3 separate regions of the Homo sapiens genome follow, and regions 1 and 3 are each linked to region 2. Evidence: promoter capture Hi-C in 16 types of primary human blood cells and fetal thymus (Javierre and others, 2016). All regions are on one chromosome and are shown on one strand. The core of a region is centred on a gene start or on the middle of the fragment in contact, and the rest is flanking DNA. Distances in the headings are between cores, read along the strand shown.

Region 1 (3,316 bases), core at 463-2,962, 210 kb after region 2:
CAGGAAGCCAGCCTAGGGGTGGTGTCCGCGCCCCCATCACAGAAGTCTCAGCCCTTTCTTTTCTCTCCGTGGGCGCCGGGCAGCAGCGACTGCCTGGGGGATGGGCGAAGGGAAGGCGCTGGCCGACCCCACCCATGGAGAGAACACAGCCACAGGCCGGGACGATACATCAAGCTCGCACCCACGGCCCTCACATGTCCACGAAGACCATGAAGCACCAGCCCAGGCCCCCGACCAGCAGCATGGTGACGTGGATGCCATAGACGAGCAGCTCGTTCACCAGGCGGAAGTCCACGCGCCGGCGGCCCAGCAGCAGCAGCAGCACCGACAGCTTGCGCTGGAAGCGCAGCAGGACGCGAACGCCCAGGTACTGTAGGCAGAAGAGGGCGGCCAGCGCACCCCAGAGCGCCGCAGTGAACAGGCTGCAGCTAAAGTAGAGTAGGAAGCGGATGAAGCCGTACAGCCAGCGCGTCTTGATGTACACGTCGAAGTTGTTGTACTTGGTGCGGGCCAGGTGGGAGGCGCGCACGGGCCCGCAGGCCGCATGCAGGCAGGTGGTGTGCGGGCCGTGGAAGGAGCGCACCCGCCGCGGAATGGGCATGACCGGCATTGGGCCCCGGCGGCGGCGGCGCTAGGTCGCAGTGGCGGCGGCGGTGTCCAGGCGGCTGTTGGCGTAGGGGTCATGGGCGCCTAGGCCTGGGAGCCCGCAGCTGACCCTGGGGGGAGGCGTCGGCCTGCGGGGAGAGCCGCAAAACCCACGTCAGTATGAGGACACCATGCGGATCCCTCCCCAGGCAATCAGCTGGCGAAAGTGGACACAAACTCCAGCACCAGGACTACGGGAAAATGGAGTCCAGGGCGGGATCTGCAGGCACTCCTGGGCTCTTTTCCACAAACCCTCCCAAGGATACTTCCAAGGGGCCCACCACCTGGGGAAGCCAAAGTGCTTGTTCTAGGGCAGCACTGGGGAAAGGGGGCCTTGGGGACAGTGGCCAGGGGAGGCCCCCGGAAGTGGTCAATGCCAAAACGGATGGGAAGGGGCAAGAGTGGCTCTTTCCTGCAGGATCCTCGCAGCTCCCCACTAGCTGGACCACACTCTGCTCTTAGGCAGTTTGCCCGTTACTGCCCTGGTCTTCTGCGGCTGCCTGACCCAGGGCTGATGCAAGCCCTTAAATGGCATCTGCAAGAAGCCACCACAGGGCCGGGAAAAGGGACTCCAGGGCTCGCAGGTGAACCGAAAACGAGCCCGGCGGGAGCAGGTGACTCCAGCAACCTGCTGGGTGCCAGATGGACGGCTCGGGGGCCGTGGGGTCACCTTGCTGGGCCTGAACCCTGGCACTGTCCTTCCCTAGCAGTGACTTTGGGCAGGTCACCTGACCCCAAGACGGCTCCTGCTCTGTCCAATGGGGGTGCCAATAGCACTGCCTTTGTGGGTAGCTGTGGGAGGGAAGGGGCTGGGCCTGGCGTGCACAGTGGGGTCGGCCCGGGGCCTGGCAGCGGCCCTTACAGACTGGGCTGCAAAGAGCAGAGGCGGCATTTGGCTCTCCAGCTTCACCTAGTAAAGGCCGTTTATACCTTGCCGAAATAATCTGTAGACGGAATGAACTCAAAGGTCAGGAAATAAAATCTGAGCAGGAAAGTTGGTAACATTACAGGGGACTGTTGCCAAGAGCTTCGCCTGCCTTCAGATTCAGCCTGGGGCCCTGCCGTGGGGACCTGGCCAGGGCGGAGGAGGGAGGGGCCGGGGCCGCCTGACCCTCCCGTGCCCGCAGGGGCCCGACCTCGCCCTCTCCCTCCGCCCGGCTCCTCCACGGGGTGCAGGGGCCAGAGCGGCCCTATTTAAGGCCGGCCTTGGCCTGGAGCTCGCCCCGGCCGGGACCCCGGCCATGGCGGTGCCACTCAAACGCGACTCGGCGGAGCTGTGTCCCCGCAGGGTCTCGCGGCCCGCGGCTCCATCCGGGTCCCTGCGTTTCTGCAGACGCCCGCTCGGCCCGGCCCATGGACCCAGGACTGTTTCCTCGGGGCCGCAGAGACGCAACGGGCCCCGGCCAACTCCGCGTGAGCACCGGGCCTGCGCCGCGCCGCGCCGGGCCCCCTGGCTGCAGAGCCCCTGCCGGAGCCACTTCCGGGTCCCGCGCCGCGCGTTGCCCTGGAGACGGCCCCCGCCTAGGCCGGGTCCCCGACCGCAGCTCACCCGGTGCCCTCTCCGCGGCGGCGCCGGCGTCCCGGACCTCGGGGCCGGCCGGCGGTGCTAGGGGCCGGGCCTGCGGGTGCCCCTGTCCCTCGGGGCTCCGTGCGCAGGGCGGCCGCATGGTGCTGGGGCGCGCGGCTGGGGGCGCTGGCAAGGCGGCTGAGGGCGTGGTTCACGCGTCGCCGGCTGGGGTCGCCCTGCAGGTGAAGGGGCTCTCGGGCGCGGCCGCCGGAGGCGTTTGGCCTAGCGTGGGAGCCGTAGCGCCGTCCCTCGACGGCCACCGTAGGGCGGCCTCACGCCCCCTCCACCCGCGCCGACCGAGCCGCACTTCCCTTCCCCCTGCTCCGGGCCCGCGCTGGGCGTCCCGGACTCGTCGCTTCCCGAGGGCGTGCGTGCGTGCGTGCGTGCGCACGCTGCGAGCAGTCCGTAGCGTTCCCTCCCCCGAACGCCCTCGGTGCCGCGCCTGGTCTTCTGCGCCTGCGCTTGCCGTTCCTGGGCCGCGCCTCCGCGCACGCGCTACCGCATCCCGTGGAGAGGCAGTGCGCAGGCGCGCTTCCGTGGAGCAGTCCTTTGGCCCCAGCAGAGGGCTTGACCGTGGTCCTGGCCCCGGACTGAGGTGTCTGCGACCCGGCGCGCTGCTGCCGTCGCTGGGGTGGGGCCGGGCCCCGGAGGAAGCCGCTTTCCCGGCGGGGGTGGGCGGCCCAGGGACCGGGAGCAGGTCTGGTCCTCGCGGGGCCGTGTGCGAAGGCCTCCTGCGCGGCCTGGGGCTGGGAGGACAGGGCGGCGGCGGGAATGAGGGCGCCCCCCAGGCTCCAGGAGGGCGGGGAAGGGTGGGGGCGGCTGACGCCACGCGGACCCGGGCGGCACGGATCGGGTGTGTAGCTGCGAGGCCCGGTGGGCCGGCGGCGACGTCGGCAGCCGAAGTAGGGACAGCCCCGGAGCACGAGCAGGCCCAGCAGCAGCCCCAGGGCCGCCCCCCCGCCGCCCCCCAGTGAAGGAAGGGGACTTGTGTTAGTGTCCTCACGCCTGGTTCGTACAGGCTGGCGGTTGTCCTGGGGGTTTCCAGCGAGGAATGTGTTGGGGAGCGCTCCTGGGTGTGGCTGCTGGGTAGGAGGGGAAGGCAGG
Region 2 (3,306 bases), core at 16-2,515:
GGATTGCAGAAATATTAACCTTTAATTGTACCTGAAACAAAGCACCTGAAATTAATAAAGAAGTCAGCCACTGACGAGAATCACTAGGTCTGTCCTGTTCCCAGGGCACGAAACAGAAGCGTCTTAATCCACTAAGCACATTAGGGCCTAACAAACTGGACTGAGTAACAAGGTTACCTAGTTCTTCCAAACAGGAATTAACCAAAGGGGATCATTATGATTAAGCACAATGCGCGGAATACGCAATTTCTAGTTGGGGAATTCAACAGCTGACAGCTTGTAAGCATCAAAATTCATAACAAGTGCAAGGCTCGGAATCACAGGTCCAGCACTGGACGATGCCCGGCGCGCCGGGAAGCGGCGCCTCAGACGGCGGCCCCGCGTCCCCATGGTCCCTCCCTGCGCCCAGAACCGGGCAGCTCCTTCCCGCCGCCGCCGCCGCCAACGGGAGGCTGGGGGCACTCCCGAAATAGGAGCGGAAGCCCCGACCCACGCCGCCCTCCGCCGCAGGGACGCCCACTCGCCAGGTGACCGCGTCCCCACGCTCCGCGTTGCCCGGGCGCCGCCAGGACCTCGGAGGCGGCCGGCCCAGCCCCGACCCTGTGCGGACGCGGCACAAAGGCGCGGCGCGCGGACCCCGACCCGGCCGGACCCCGGCCGCGTCCCCCGGCCCCGGCCCGCGCCCCTGGCCCCCGCCCCGCGCCCCTCACCCGGCCCACCTCGGCCGTAGGCCTTGGCGCAGATCCACTGCAGGTTGGCGGCGATCTTGGCGCGCGCCGCGTCGTAGCGGTCCAGGGGCACGAGGTCGGCGGCGCCGTCCGGCGGGGCCTCCATCTTCCTCCAGCCCTCGGCGGCGGCGCGGCCGCTCGCGTCCACCATCTGCAGACAAAGGGCTGAGGCGGCGGCCCGGCCGCAACAAAGGCGCCGCCGCCCCTCGCCGCGCCGGGCCCGGTGCGCCCCGAGCCACCACTCGGCCCCGCAGCCGGCCAGCCGGGAGGGGCGCCCGAGCGCGGCCCCCGCCTCACCTCACAGCCGCCGCCGTCGCCGCCCCCGCGGCTGCTGCATGCTGCGGGCGCTGAGCCCGAGCGGAGGAGGTGCCGAGCCCGCGGCCCAAAGAGGCGGCGGCAGGAGGGCGCGGGCCGGGGGCGGGGGCGGGCGCGGGGGCGGGAGCGGGCCGGGGGCGGTGGCAGCGCGTGCGCGGTCCCGGGTGAGCGGCGGCGGCGGCGACAGCGGCTGAGGCGGTGGCCAAGGAGCGGGAGCGCGCTCACCGCCGGGGCCTCGCACAGGCGCAGTAGGCACCGCCCGCCACCCCGCCCTCGACCCCGCCCCCAGCTCCGCTCCCTTCTCGCGCCTGCCCCGCCCCTTTCCGCAGGCGCAGTAGGCACCGCCCGCCAGCCCGCGCCCGCCCCGCCCCTTTCCGCAGGCGCAGTAGGTGGCACCCGCAGGCCTGTGCCTGCCCCGCCCCTTTCCGCAGGCGCAGTGAGCGTCGACCCGCCCCTCCCCGCCCGCTTCCGCAGGCGCAGTAGGACCCGCCCTGGTCCGCGCCTGCCCCGTTGCTTTCCTCAGGCTCTAAGGCCCGCGGTGTGGAGCGCGGCGTAGGCAGCGGGGAGTGGGCGGCGCGGGGTGGGTGGAGTGGGTCGGCGGCGGGGATCCTGCCGAGCCCGCAGCTGCCCTCTTTTAGCGCCGTGTCTCCTCCCCGGCCCTGGCTCGTCCCACCTCAGCCACAGCCCGGCCCCCTGGCCGGCCGAGGTCTCGCCGCCGGCGCCCTGGGGACCTCGTGGGTGTGGCCGGCGGCGACCTCGGCAGGCGACAGCCCAGCAGACGGGCACCAGGTGGACGTGCCAGTCTCCAGACCCCCGTCCCGGTGCAGGGAAGGTGGGCGTTTGGACCCCTGAGGCAGAAACAGGTGCGGCCCCGCCGGCGCATCCCCCGGAAGGGACGCTGACTTCGTTCCCCTGGAGCCTGCGTCGGGGCCCGCGCTGGGCTGAGAATTACGGGAACGCCGTGAGAGTTTGCATTCCGAGGATTTGGTCTGAGAACCTCACCAGCGAAATAGAGAACTGCCCCCGGGAGAGCCGGCCCACGTGCCGCCCACCGGCGCCTTGACGGCAGGGAGAGGTCGAGCTTCCAGGGAGCGGGCGCCCGGCGCGGGGCTCCCAGCCTGTCTGTACCTGGTCGAGACACCCCGTGCCAGAGGCGGAACATGTATGAAATGCCAGGTGCCCAGAGGACCCAGGCAGTCCGTCATTCACATACCAACCCACGTGCAGGCTTCAATTCAACCTTGAAGCCATTTGGGCCTGGGCTTTTTTGATGACTTATTTGATTCATAGTTTTTTGGTTACTAATTGAGTCTCTTCACTTGTTATAGGTCTGTTGAGATTGTCTATTTTTTCTTGAGTCAGCCGTCTGAAAAGAACACGAGGTGGACAGGGCAGAGCGGTCAAGGAAAGCCATAGGAGGAGGGCACTTATTTGAGCAAAGACCGGCGGGACGTGGGCGTCGAGGGTAAGGATATCTGCAGAAGTACTGTCTTGAGCAAGGAGCACGGCAGACAGAGCCTCTGAGACACGAGAGCCTGGAGTGTAAGAAACACAGTAGAGGCCACTAAGTCGAGAACGCAGGAGCTGGAAGGACTGGTAGGAAATGGGAGGTGGGGACATGGAGGGATGCAGACAGGTCCTGCACAGTCAGAACTGTGGCCCCTTCTCTGCAGGAAATGGGCAGCCTTCGGAAGACTGAGCACACGGAAGGATATGACTAACCCTTTAAAAGGGTCATTCTGACTCCTGGGTGAAGAACAGACTAGGAAGGGCTGAGGAGGAGGCAGGAGGCCATCTACTGTTATATGGGATGTGGAGTGTGACCCGGAAAGGTCAAGTGTGACTCTAAGGGCTTTTTGTGTACTGATCTTTTATCCTGCAACCTTGCTAAACCCATTTATTAGTTCTTCTTGTCTTTTAGTGGCATTTATTAGTTGTTCTAGTGTTTTAGTGGATTCCTTGGGATTTTATACAAAAGCGTGTCATTTGTGAATAGAGATCAGTTTATCTCTTCCTTTCTAATCTGGATGCCTTTTATTTCTTCTCCTTGCCTAGCTGCCCTATCTAGAAGCTCCAGTACAATATTGACTAGAAGCAGCAAGAGTGGACATCCTTGTCTTGCTCCTGATTTCAGGGAGGAGGCATCCAGTCTTTCACCTTTGGGTATGATGATAGCTGTGGGTGCTTAAAAAATAGGTTTTATCAGGCTGGGCACAGTGGCTCACGCCTGTAATCCCAACCCTTTGGGAGGTCGAGGCGGGCG
Region 3 (3,594 bases), core at 1,093-3,592, 230 kb after region 2:
CAGGGAAGAGGGAAGGGTCCCAGTAAGGGAACTGGGTGCAGGGTGCCCAGCTGGGGCTTTGCAAGCAGCCATCAGGCAGAGACCTGGGGCAGAGGAGACTCCTGGAAACATGCACCCTGCAAGCAGAGGAGGTGGCGTGGGCCTGGCTGCGGCGCTCGCAGGTACCCCCTCAGCGTGTCATTGGCTCAGGGGCCCCACCCCCTTCTGTCAAAGGACTGGGAGGTCACCAGGGTCTGTCCAGCTGCAAGTCCCCGATTCTCTGCAGAGTCTTGTTCTTTGGGGCAGGCTGGGACCCCGGCTGCCTGTCACCCTGCCACGGCTCCACAGCGGCCCATCGATCCCCCCATCCCCTGCCAGCGGCCACGCCAGCGTGGGCCACTCAGACGTTCCCAGCCCCCAGGGCCCGATCAGGGCATCGACAGAACGGCACGCTCGCCATTTAATTAAGCTTAGTTTAATTAAAAACCTGGAGTTCTTTATTAGACTTGGTAATTGATTTAATTTTCTGTGGAATTCAAGTGCCAAACACCTCTTTTGTGTGAGCTTGTGAATTTTGGCAGGTGGAGTCGGACAGCCAAAAAGGAAAATCCCTCCTCCGCTGGGTGAGGTTTGTCTCACAGCAGCACGGGCAGAATCCTCTGCTGACCCACCCTCCTCTCCCCTCGCTTCCCCTCCTCTCCCCTCCCTCCCCCTCCCTCCCCCTCCCTTCCCCTTCCCTCCTCTCCCCTCCCCAAAACCTCCCTTCCCTAGGCCAAGGGTTTTTCGCCATGGGGAAAGGCCGCCCTTGCTACTGGGTGGGGTTTCTGGAAATCCCACAGTGGCTCGGGTCTCTGCTGGTCCCCGGGCTGGCGGTGGAGAGGGGTTTCCTTAGGTGATCCCAGGGGGCCTCTGGATGGGGAGGAGGATGTGGGGTGCAGGGAATCCATTTTGTGGGTTATTTTTGGAAAGTTTGGTCCTTCCTGGACAGTTTCAGCCCTGCCTTGCTCCTGAGGGAGCTGTAGTCCTGATGGCAGGTGGTCTCACCCAGTGGTGCCTCACATGTCCCCAGCCAGGTCCCTAGAGTACAGAGCACCACGCGGTGGCTGCACTGGAGCTTGATGGCTCCCGGGAAGGAGCGGGACACAAGAAAGGCAGTGGGGTGTTTGCACACAGGAAACCCTTCACTCACCTGTCTCCCAGGAACGCCAGCGCCCTCTGCAGGACATGTGAGCCTCCAAGTCACCTCGAGATTAAAGCCCCCCAAGCATCTGGAACAGCAGCTCCGGCGACAGCCCTTCATTACTGAAAGCCTCAGAAGGACACAAGCCCTCCTGTCCAGTATGCAGTGGTGACCTTTGACTCTTGGCTGCTCCCAGGGCGGGAGAATACCTTCTGTAGAAGGAAATTTCTCTTTCCTAATTGGAATAGATCATAAAAGCAGGGATTTTTTTAATTATTTATTATTTATTTTTTTTTTGAGATGGAGTTTCGCTCTTGTTGCCCAGGCTGGAGTGCAATGGCACGATCTTGGCTCACTGCAACCTCCACCTCCCAGGTCCAAGCAATTCTCCTGCCTCAGCCCCCTGAGTAGCTGGGATTACAGGCACCCGCCATCATGCCTGGCTAATTTTTGCATTTTTGTAGACACGGGGTTTCTCCATGTTGGTCAGGCTGGTCTCGAACTCCTGACCTCAGGTGATCCGCCCACCTTGGCCTCCCAAAGTGCTGGGATTACAGGCGTGAGCCACTGCACCCAGCCACAAACAGCTTTTAAAAATAGAGGCTGGTGGCGGGGCACAGGGGCTCCTGCTTGTGATCCCAGCACTTTGGGAAGACGAGGGGGGACTGATTGAAGCCTGGAGTTGGAGACCAGCCTGGGCAACATAGCGAGACTCCATCTCTACAAAAAATAATGTAAAAAAAATTAGCCAGTTGTGGTGGTGCGTGCCTGTAGTCCTAGCTACTCAGGAGGCTGAGGTGGGAGAATCATTTGAACCCAGTAGTTCAAGCCTGTGGTGAGCTGTGATCACACCACTGTACTCTAGCCTGGATGACAGAGTGAGACTCTATCTCTTACCAAAAAAAAAAAAAAAAAAAAATCAATCAATCAATCAATAGAATAGAGGTAAGGGCTGAGTGCGGTGGCTCACACCTGTAATCCCAGCACTTTGGGAGGCTGAGGCGGGTGGATCACCTGAGGTCAGGAGTTCAAGACCAGCCTGGCCAACATGGTGAAAGCCCGTCTCTACTAAAAATACAAAAATGAGCTGGGCATAGTGGTGCATGCCTGTAGTTCCAGCTACTCAGAAGGCTGAGTCAGGAGAATTGCTTGAACCTGGGAGGCAGAGGTTGCAGTGAGCTGAGATCGAGCCACTGCACTCCAGCCTGGGTGACAGAGCAAGACTTGACTAAAAATTAAAATAGAATAGAATAGAATAGAATAGAATAGAATAGAATAGAATAGAATAGAATGGAATAATGGTTGAGCTTTGCGAAAACACTCTGGTGGTTCTTCAGACTCTGAAGCACAGTTACCATGTGACCAAGCAATCCAATTCCTGGGTTCAAACCCAAAAAAATGAAAGCAGGCACCTGCAAGAACTTGCACAGGAATGTCCACAGCAGCGTTACTCACAAAAGCCAAAATGTGGAAACAGCCCCAAGGCCCATGGATGGGTGAGTGGATAAACAATAGATCTATTGAGGGAACTGTGATGTGGGCCTAAAAAAAAAAGGAATGAGTGGCGTGATCTCGGCTCACTGCAGCCTCGAACTCCTGGGCTTATGTGTCCCTCCCACCTCAGCCTCAAGTAGCTGAGACTACAGGTGCACACCACCATGCCCAGCTTATTTATTATTTATTTATTTTTTGAGACAGAGTCTCACTCTGTCACCCAGACGGGAATGCAGTGGCACGAACTCAGCTGACTGTACCCTCCGCCTCCCAGCTTCAAGTGATTCTCGTGCCTCAGCCTCCCGAGTAGCTGGGATTACAGGTGTGCACCACCAGGCCCGGCTAATTTTTGTATTTTTTAGTAGAGGCGGGGTTTAACCATGTTGGCCAGGCTGGTCTCGAACTCCTGGCCTCAAGTCATCCACCTGCCCCGACCTCCCAAAGTGCTGGAATTACAGGGTGAGCCATTGTGGCCAGCCTAATTTATTTATTTTTGTAGAGACCGGGTCTCACTGTGTTGCCCAGGCTAGTCTCAAACTCCTGGGCTCAAGCGATCCTCTGGCCTCGGCCTCCCAAAGCGTTGGCATTACAGGCATGAGCCACTGCACCCAGCCAAATGTTCGAACAGATATCTGGGAACCCAGCAGCCAAGTCAAGTTGACACATGAAATTAACCATCACTCCATCCTCACGATTCTGAACCGCACGCCTCAGTGGCATTAAGTGCATTCACGTTGCTGTGCAAACAACATCTTCCTCCATCGACACAGCTTTCCCTCTTTCCAAACTGAAGCTCTGTTCCCACCCCCTCCCCCCGCCCCTGGCGTACACGCCTCTGCTGTCTGTCTCCAGGGCCTCTCGGAGGAGGAATCAGGCAGGCCTTGCCTTTTCATGGCTGGCTGCTTTCCCTGAGCACAACATCCTCCAGGCACGTCCCCATC

What was found. Contacts are between HindIII fragments. The CHiCAGO score rates a contact against its expected background, and 5 or more counts as called.
Region 1: a fragment that was not itself captured here is called in contact with the fragment with the promoter of CAMSAP1 in region 2 in 10 of 17 cell types (naive CD8 T cells, neutrophils, naive B cells and 7 more); the score reaches 9.3 in naive CD8 T cells.
Region 3: a contact is called between a fragment that was not itself captured here and the fragment with the promoter of CAMSAP1 in region 2, in 1 of 17 cell types (neutrophils). The highest score is 5.1, in neutrophils.

Annotation. Positions count from the first base shown.
Region 1 is chr9:136,116,291-136,119,606 of GRCh38, forward strand. It overlaps TMEM250 (transmembrane protein 250), which reads right to left and starts at 2,585. Exons shown (of 2, transcript NM_152833.3): 1 at 2,195-2,585; 2 at 1-734. The coding sequence starts at 610. The coding sequence ends at 191. LOC107987142 (a long non-coding RNA gene) reads left to right here and starts at 1,502. Exons shown (of 2, transcript NR_165242.1): 1 at 1,502-1,612. RefSeq lists enhancers at 531-1,106, 1,107-1,682, 2,836-3,316 and silencers at 1,699-2,748, 2,779-3,168. The HindIII fragment of the contact is 6,377 bases long and covers 1-3,316 here.
Region 2 is chr9:135,906,281-135,909,586 of GRCh38, forward strand. CAMSAP1 (calmodulin regulated spectrin associated protein 1) reads right to left here and starts at 1,266. Exons shown (of 17, transcript NM_015447.4): 1 at 720-1,266. The coding sequence starts at 879. CAMSAP1-DT (CAMSAP1 divergent transcript) reads left to right here and starts at 1,553. Exons shown (of 2, transcript XR_007061860.1): 1 at 1,553-2,639. RefSeq lists silencers at 405-454, 855-924, 1,005-1,114, 1,155-1,834. The HindIII fragment of the contact is 15,122 bases long and covers 1-3,306 here.
Region 3 is chr9:136,137,616-136,141,209 of GRCh38, forward strand. No RefSeq gene overlaps it. Among named protein-coding and RNA genes, the nearest start is that of TMEM250, 21 kb to the left of the region's middle. The HindIII fragment of the contact is 3,792 bases long and covers 447-3,594 here.